Regions from separate parts of the Homo sapiens genome. Here regions 1 and 3 are each linked to region 2. The links are contacts of gene promoters, found by promoter capture Hi-C in blood cells and fetal thymus (Javierre and others, 2016). All regions are on one chromosome and are shown on one strand. Each heading gives the region's core, a stretch centred on a gene start or on the middle of the fragment in contact. The rest is flanking DNA. Distances are from core to core; before and after follow the strand shown.

Region 1 (2,743 bases), core at 28-2,527, 1.0 Mb before region 2:
AATCCCTGATCTTAAGCAATTTTACAAACATCCTACGCTTTTTATTCTCCTTGACTTGAAGTCTGCTGAACCAACATTCAAAGCGGTTTTAGGTTTAATTTGCTTGAAACTAATTTGAGAAAAGTACATTTCCCTTTTTCATTAATATCTTCTTTTAGCTTCATGTCTTTAACAATGGTATGAGTGCCAAATGACCTCACTGCAGGAAGGAAAACATATTTGCTTAATTGGTTAGCACTATGAATCAGAAGCCTGATTCTAATACCCAACTGTATGTCAGTAAAATAAGACCTTTCTCCCCCAAAGATCTTATTATGATTGCTTATCTATGAATTGCATTAAAAAGCAGCTTCTTTAATAGAGCTACCACTATAAGAGAGATCTTTAACAGTAAAGTTATTACTGTGAACTAGTTTTTAGAAGTTTTATCTTCCAAGGGGTATTTTAATTTAATTTTCCTCTAAACTTGAAAACTCTTTATGCCCTTCCTGAAACTCCAGCAAGAAAAAGATCTCTTAGTCATTTTGTGTAGCTCCGGTGGGGAAGGGCAACAGGTGAAAATGTGAAGATGTCCTCTTGAGCTCTGTCTAATTTGTCAGGAGCCCTTAGTAACATTAAAAGTTTAGAAAGCTTCCCTTCCTCAGAGTAGAGGTAAAAGGTGGGAGTGGAGACACCGAGTTAAGGCAGAGGAAGGGCTCAAAAAGTAAAGTAGGGAAGTTCTCCATTTCAAAGAGGTGTCGGCCAAGTTTTTGACGTACAGCTCTCATAACTTTTTAGGAATTTAGTTCAATATAGAATTTTAAACTAATAATTATATCAAAAACATTGCCCTCTTTTAAATAACAACAGAAAAATATTTACAAGTAGAATGAGAAAATGAACTACATGACTAGTAACTAAAAATATTTTATATATATATATAATTTTTTTTTTTTACTTCTCTAGAACTTTGCTGCTCAGTATGATGGAAAAGGAGTTGGACTTGGCCCTGGACCAATGGTATGCTTATCTGTTTATCTTAGCCAAAAAAATTGCTAAATAAATCATTCATTTTATGTCACATTTTACCACGCCATTTATTTAGCTACCTAAGTTAACACTCAATACTTAGATTATATAAAAACAACTCTTTTTGTTTTCAAATTTATGAAAACATAAGTTAAGGAGTTCACTTTTCTTTACAAAAGAAAGATTAATTGATCTTTTATGATTATATGATCTTTTTGATTATATGATCCTCATTAAGATAGATCATATACTTATGTCCAAGAAATAATCTTTGGACATAGTAACCATAACTTGGGCAAATCAATTTAATTTAAAACAGTAATCACTCTGATTAATTTTTTAATATTCTTTAACATTGCTTAGAATTTTAAGCAACACTTAGAGGCATAGAACTATTTATTAAGTTCTCTGAACTTGTTGGAAAGGATCAACAAGTTCTATCTAGTCCAGCTAACTCATTTTAAAATGGGAGAGTTTAAGCCCTTTTCTCAAAGTCATCCAGGTAACTAATGACATAACTAGAACTAGATGCCAGGCAAGATGTCTAATATTTGCTTACATCATGGTTTATGTACCTAGTCCTTGAATAAACCACTCATTTAGTCAACAGATATTAATCAGATGCCTTCAATGGGCCCTAAACTGTATTAGGAACTGGGGAAATTACAAGGAATATGACAGATTCTGATCCTTCCTCAAGGAGTTAACAATATAGGAAATGTTTCTTTTTCTGAATTTTGACCAAAAAAATCCTTTTTTAGTCTATTGATTGTAAATCTATATAGAAGAGAGTATGAGTAAAAATCTAGCATTTATGTCACTCAGTACAAATATTCAGCACCATACCCTATCAGTGGAGCACCGCTTAGAAACATTCCCTATATGATGATGATGATGATGATGACTATTAACAAATGAAGCTTCTAACAAGCATTAGAGAGAAGTTTGAAGGGAAAAATGCTAATACGAGCATGCAAAATGTATACTAGCATATATGAAATAGAGGGGAAAACTGCCAGAAGTCAAAGTGTTAGGTTGATTAAGCACTACAGAATTTAATGTATACACACACACGCAATTTAGTGATTTTAATTAATTGTTTCAAAACAAAGGTATTTATCTGCCCAAAGTCAACAAGGTCTTTAAAATGTAAATTTTACCTGGGCAGTGCACTTAGTGCTCTATCTTCAAAAGAAGATGTTCTGCTGGAGCTAATGGCCCACAGTAAGCTAATATACTCTAAGGGTGAGATAATATTTTCTGTAAATTAAAACTCCCACTTGAGAAATAATGTACCTTTAATTGACGACTTCTAATTCCCTAATTTTTTCTGGTAGTTTAAAATGTTCATATCTGAAATGAAAAAGTAGAGTGTTTCTTTTGGCTTTGTTTATATTGGATTTTTGAAATTAGCTGTTTCAGCTAATGCTGGACATTAGTCAGTTTTAAAGCAGTACCTACATCTCAAGAAGAAGCAAGGGGGCGGAAAGTAAAGAGCTACTAAATGTCATTTTTAAAAAGCCCACTAAGCTGGGAAAATTAATATGGATTTCAGATACCCCTGTTTTCGGAACATCTGTCTTGGCATAAAGCAGAGTATTTTACTTTGAAATATCAGTGAAATATAATTTAAGCTTGCACATCCACACACATGCACAGACATATGTAATCAACAGATATCTGTTTCACAAATAGGGAAGATAGGCAGCAATAAAGTATTAAAATAATTTCCATG
Region 2 (3,152 bases), core at 136-2,635:
CCTATCCTTCCCACCACCCTACTATTCTCATCTCCTGACTTTATGCTCCCTTCAAATTGGCCCATTTGCTAGTCTTCCAACTTCCCACCTTAGCCCCTTTGCTCCTGCTGCACTATACATTTGGCATGGGCCCCTTCATGCTCATATGTGTTGCACCCACCCTTCAAGGTCAGGTCGAATGTCTCTTCCTCCCTCTAGAACTCCACCCTCAGGGGATGGAATCTTTCCTCTTTAAGCCTATGCGGTTCATTTGTGTCTGTCCTTAGAACATCCTAATTTATACATTTACTGTATTTTAATTCTCTCTTCCCCTGTATCAAACTCCATAAGGGTCGTACTCTACTATAGAAGCCTAAGAGAGAACATTACACATAGCAGGTGCTCAGTCTTTCTGGAACTCTTTTGCATGAGGCCTATAAAATTTTGGTTGAGGCAGGGCAGAACAGCTCACACCTGTAATCCCAGCACTGTGGGGAGGCCTAGGCTGGAGGATTGCTTGAGTGCAAGAGTTAGGGAACAGCCTGGGCAATACAGCAAGACCCCATCTCTACAAAAAATAAAATAAACAAAAAACAAACGTTGAGTTGGTAATTTATAAACGATGATGTCTACCTACCAGAGATTTTCATTAAAACTAAAATGCGAGATGGAATAGTGTCTGCGCTGTCTGGCATTCTGGCTTCAGGCTTCCCTGGTGAATAAATAGGAAGTAAGAACAGTAGCTGAATATTTCAAGTGTCTTTGATCTACAGCTGAAGAGTTTCTCAAACTATGCAGAAATGGGTGGAGAACAACTTTATTAAAGACGGGTCTGGTTTGGGCAACAAGGAGAAACAGCACCAATGACCTGAAATAAATCTTCATAGTTAAGGTTTCAATGCATGAGTAGTCATTTTGTTTTCAATTTAAACCACTAGTTTGGCCCTTGGGTAATTGCAAAGCATTCTCTTGTCAGCCTAAGCAGAAGAGAACTTTGTTAGCAGCAAGGGCTTATAAACTTTCAAGAAAGTGTCGCGATTCACTCCAAACTTTGCTAGTTTTTTCACTAGAAGCGGAGAGTCGGGGTGATGGGGGTTCAACTAGCTGGGGGAGGGACAGCATTCAAAAATTCTCCACCCCCGGCCGCAGGGCCAGGTCCCGCAGGAATCCCTCCCCCAGCCTGCGCCCTCCCCGCACCACGCGGCCACCCCGAGCCTGGGGACCGCCGAGGAGGGGCGCGCGGGAGTCCCACCTACCTGAGTGCCAGAAGCCTCTCGCCCAGGAGCGCCAGCGCGATCCCCAGCAAGCCCACAGCCACCAGCCGCCCCATGGCGCGGGAGCCGGGCGCGCTGCCTCGCTCCGGCCTGGCCAGCAGCTCCGTGGGCGGTGCCATCTTCCCGGCTCGATGGTGCCGGCCGCGCTCCGCCCCGTCCTCCGCCTAGGCCGAGTCCCTGCGTCGGGGCCGCGGAGGCTCCGCCCTGGGCCTGGCCCTGGTCTTTGTCCTCACAAACCTATTTCCCCAGATACCTTCGGGACGGCCCGGACACGCCTTACATTAGGCTCATGATGTGAAACTTTGAATTCCTTCACTTCCTTTTTCAAACAACCCACCCGAAACCCTCTAGCAGCCCGCATACCTTTCTCGTTTCCCTAGTCTTCAAACACATTTCTCACTCGCTATTCCAGTGAGAAACTTACATAGAAAGCAGCTTTTGGGGATGGGGGTCGGTGGCCAAGGGAGGGAAAGTAACGGGATGCGTCGTGTAAATATTTCACGTTGGAATCACTACTTTTTATAACAGGACGTAGTTGCGAATAAATAAACATCCTGTGCCTCGTAATACTTTTTTTTTTTTTTTTTAACAGGGTCTCGCTGTGTTGCCTAGGCTGGAGTACATTGGCACAATCATAGCTCACTGCAGTCTGGACCTCCCGGACTCAAGGGACCCTCCAGCCTCAGCCTCCTGAGTAGCTGGGACCGCAGGCACGTACCGTTACACCTAGCTAAGTGTGTGTAAGTTGTGTGTGTGTCTGTGTGTGTGTGTGTGGAGACCGAGTCTTGCTGTGTTGCCCAGGTTGGTCTCAAACTCCTGGACTCAAGCCATCCTCCTGCCTCAGCCTCCCAAAGTGCTAGAATTACAGGAATGAGCCACCATGCCCAGCCTCTATTAATACTTCCAGACTACAGACTTAAGGACTTAGACACGTCTTTTTCATCCAAACTCAAAGGGAAGAAGTGTAGTTTTTTTCTTTTCCGTTTTTACTCTAACAACCGTAACATGAAGGAATAATTTAAAATACAATTTTAAAAGTAAAATGAAATTTACCCATCAAGATTGATACCATTACAATAAATGAGTACATCTGAAATAAGCTTCTAATGGTTTTCGGTATTTAATTGCCACCCTACAATATGTAGGCAGAAATGGTCACACTTGACAATTTTCAACAAATATCAGTTTTATAAAGAACCAGTAAATAAAAGTGGATGCCAATTTCCCACCTGCCTCTCACCAAAAAAAAAAAAAAAAAAAAAAAGCACAAACACCTCTCTCCCTGTGTGTGTGTGTATCTCTGCTTCAGTCCTAAGGATATTGGATTATACTGGATGGTAGAAAGAGAAGTAAAAAGTTGTCCTTTGAAAGCCCATGAGGCATTACCTTTTTTGTGTCGTGGACCCTTCTGGCAGTGGTGAGCCTGTGGATAACTTCTTAGAATAATGTTTATAAATGCTTACAATAAAATGCATAAATTTTCTCTGTGCGGTTCATGAAAAAAAGAAAGAAGAAAAAAAAATTTTAAATAAATGAATAAAATGTATAGATTGCAAAGAAAATCAATTACATTGTAAGGAAAAAAAATAGCTGAGAGCAGTCTGAGCTTTGTGAGGTATGCAAAATTTATCAGGCCCAGAGCGACATGAGTATGGGACTTCAGTCACGCCCCAATACCCATGCCTGGGGACAGTTGTTTAAAGACATTTTGTTCCCGAGTAGCTGTCCCACCCATTATCTTCATATTCCTGGAATTTATGATACAAAGAACAAAGTATAACCAATCCACAGCTTATGTTATTTTAACGCAAGGAATTTAGGAACTGCCTCTTCCTTCCCCTTAAAAATCTATGTGTAACTGCTGCTAATCAGAGTGTATATTTAGGGAAACTTGAATCT
Region 3 (2,756 bases), core at 28-2,527, 1.0 Mb before region 2:
AGAAAATAAACAATATATCAGCTAGACTTAATATTTTTTAAAAATTTCAGTCCATGCTGAGAATTGATACAAATAACTTGAGCTATTTTAAATCTCTTATGCTTGTTTGTATTAAACAATTACAAGGATCTAGCCACTTTACAGATAGCACAACTAAAGCAGATTACCAGCAGAGGTGAGAGCCTAGCTAAACCATTACATGTCCTGAGTTACCTTTGTAAACGAATTAAGCAGTATTTGTGGTGAAGTGAGTGCCATTTTTTTAAAACGGTAAGTCTTATCCATCCTTCTGTTTCTTTATAGGGCCCACAAGGCATTCGTGGCGATAAGGGAGAGCCCGGTGAAAAGGGGCCCAGAGGTCTTCCTGGCTTAAAGGGACACAATGGATTGCAAGGTCTGCCTGGTATCGCTGTAAGTAAACTGTAGCCATCTCGCACATAAACTGATCCTGAAGGCCTTCAGCTCAGAAGGATTTTCATATTTTCACTGCTATTGTTCCAGTATAGCCTATATAATATCCATTTCCCATTCTCTGGCTAACTCCATCTCACTCTTGGAGGTAATGCTATTTCATACCAACATGAAAGGTGAGGATTAAGGGAGATAGAAATAGACATACAATAAAATCTCCTGGTAACAATGTCCTTCAACCCCACTTAAAATAAACATAATTAGAGGAATGACTAATATTGCACTGCTGAAATAGGTTGTGAAAAAAAAATTGAATATAATAGACATAATGGGAGAAAAGAGCCCCACTTTACATTTTCAATTTTCTCAATCCGGAGTCCATTTAACTAAAGTTTCCCATTCAATTTGGAAAAAAAAAAAAAATATGTCTCTTGACATGTGCTCTGAAAGTGTGATTTTCCTCTTCTGTCTTTAAAGGGTCACCATGGTGATCAAGGTGCTCCTGGCTCCGTGGGTCCTGCTGGTCCTAGGGTAGGTGGACTCAAGAGAAGACAGTTCATCTCTGAAATAGAGGCTAAAGCGAGCAGTGAGCCCCAGGCTGCTGCTCCCTTGGTGGGATTCACCAGCTCACATGTACCTGGTGTCTGTCTTCCTTAGGGCCCTGCTGGTCCTTCTGGCCCTGCTGGAAAAGATGGTCGCACTGGACATCCTGGTACAGTTGGACCTGCTGGCATTCGAGGCCCTCAGGGTCACCAAGGCCCTGCTGTAAGTATGATTTGGGGAAATAATAAAGAAGATCACGGACCTAAGGAATGTTTTCTTCAGACTAAACCAAGACAACTTTGACAACCCATTAAAGTTAGCCCCATTTCAATATATCCTCTAAAATATCTGGAAATTGTCTATATGCAATGGGCTTGTTAAGTCCATCCCTGCAAGTGTGCCTGGGGGCTCGTTATTTATTTATGTGAACTTGATTATTTTTTACTGATGAGAACATGCTTCCGTGTGAAGCTCAACTGAAAATCTGCTGCCATGGATGTCTCTCACTGTAACAAAATATAAAGCCTCTCCTATCTCACTTTCACCTTTGCAGGGCCCCCCTGGTCCCCCTGGCCCTCCTGGACCTCCAGGTGTAAGCGGTGGTGGTTATGACTTTGGTTACGATGGAGACTTCTACAGGGCTGACCAGCCTCGCTCAGCACCTTCTCTCAGACCCAAGGACTATGAAGTTGATGCTACTCTGAAGTCTCTCAACAACCAGATTGAGACCCTTCTTACTCCTGAAGGCTCTAGAAAGAACCCAGCTCGCACATGCCGTGACTTGAGACTCAGCCACCCAGAGTGGAGCAGTGGTAGGTCAAGATGTCCAGACCAGACTGACCCTTCTCACAAGTTGAGCTTTTCAAAATTAGTTTCCATTGACATTTAGAGTGAAAATGCATTTGGGTAAAGATTACATTATGTGAAATCACACCCAATTAATGGAGCGTCATCTTCTCCCAACCAGCACCCAACCTCATTTCCCTTAAAATGTATTTTTGCACTTTTCATAGTAATAAGTACCCTGATTTGATTTTTCATGGAGGAGGGGAGGGAAGGAACTGTCTAATCTTAAAAATAGCCACCCTCTTCCTCTTAAATATGGGGTAGACAATCAAAAATGTTACTTATGAGAGTCAGTATCTTTCATTAGTTATTATTAGAATCTGTGTTCTGCTCAATGAGAAGTTTCATGATCTGAATGTTATTTTCTTAAAAGGTTACTACTGGATTGACCCTAACCAAGGATGCACTATGGATGCTATCAAAGTATACTGTGATTTCTCTACTGGCGAAACCTGTATCCGGGCCCAACCTGAAAACATCCCAGCCAAGAACTGGTATAGGAGCTCCAAGGACAAGAAACACGTCTGGCTAGGAGAAACTATCAATGCTGGCAGCCAGGTGAGGAATCCCACAAACACCTCTCCTTCTGCTAAATAATATTTTGGTAGGACTGTTTGTTAATTATCTGCATTTTAATCTCTGACAAAAATGGGCTTATTAAAAAAAGACCTGTTCCTTTCCTGGGTTCCAATTTTGTCCTAAATTGCACATTAGAAGATGGATTGATTGGACACATCCATGTAATTCAAAGTTATTATTCAAATTTGACTTAATTGGTAATCATTGAAAAAACTGACTAATGTCATTTAGTGTGAAGGAGCACTGGCCAGCTATATGCCACACTCATACATATGCATTTTCAGAATGTGAGCAGCTTTTCTGAATTTTTAATCAAACCTTTTCACCAACTTTACTGAATGCCTACTGGAATTCCATAAATTACAAAATGACAGAAA

What was found. The method cuts DNA at HindIII sites, captures the fragments that hold promoters and counts their contacts. A CHiCAGO score of 5 or more calls a contact.
Region 1: a fragment that was not itself captured here is called in contact with the fragment with the promoter of PON2 in region 2 in 1 of 17 cell types (total B cells); the score reaches 5.2 in total B cells.
Region 3: a fragment that was not itself captured here is called in contact with the fragment with the promoter of PON2 in region 2 in 1 of 17 cell types (naive B cells); the score reaches 6.3 in naive B cells.

Annotation. Positions count from the first base shown.
Region 1 is chr7:94,400,622-94,403,364 of GRCh38, forward strand. COL1A2 (collagen type I alpha 2 chain) reads left to right here. Exons shown (of 52, transcript NM_000089.4): 6 at 946-999. Among named protein-coding and RNA genes, the nearest start is that of COL1A2, 7.1 kb to the left of the region's middle. The HindIII fragment of the contact is 1,298 bases long and covers 629-1,926 here.
Region 2 is chr7:95,433,643-95,436,794 of GRCh38, forward strand. It overlaps PON2 (paraoxonase 2), which reads right to left and starts at 1,386. Exons shown (of 9, transcript NM_000305.3): 1 at 1,236-1,386. The coding sequence starts at 1,309. RefSeq lists a silencer at 1,069-1,498 and an enhancer at 1,173-1,743. The HindIII fragment of the contact is 3,363 bases long and covers 1-2,351 here.
Region 3 is chr7:94,426,120-94,428,875 of GRCh38, forward strand. It overlaps COL1A2 (collagen type I alpha 2 chain), which reads left to right. Exons shown (of 52, transcript NM_000089.4): 46 at 304-411; 47 at 889-942; 48 at 1,069-1,176; 49 at 1,508-1,766; 50 at 2,174-2,358. Among named protein-coding and RNA genes, the nearest start is that of COL1A2, 33 kb to the left of the region's middle. The HindIII fragment of the contact is 3,339 bases long and covers 1-2,756 here.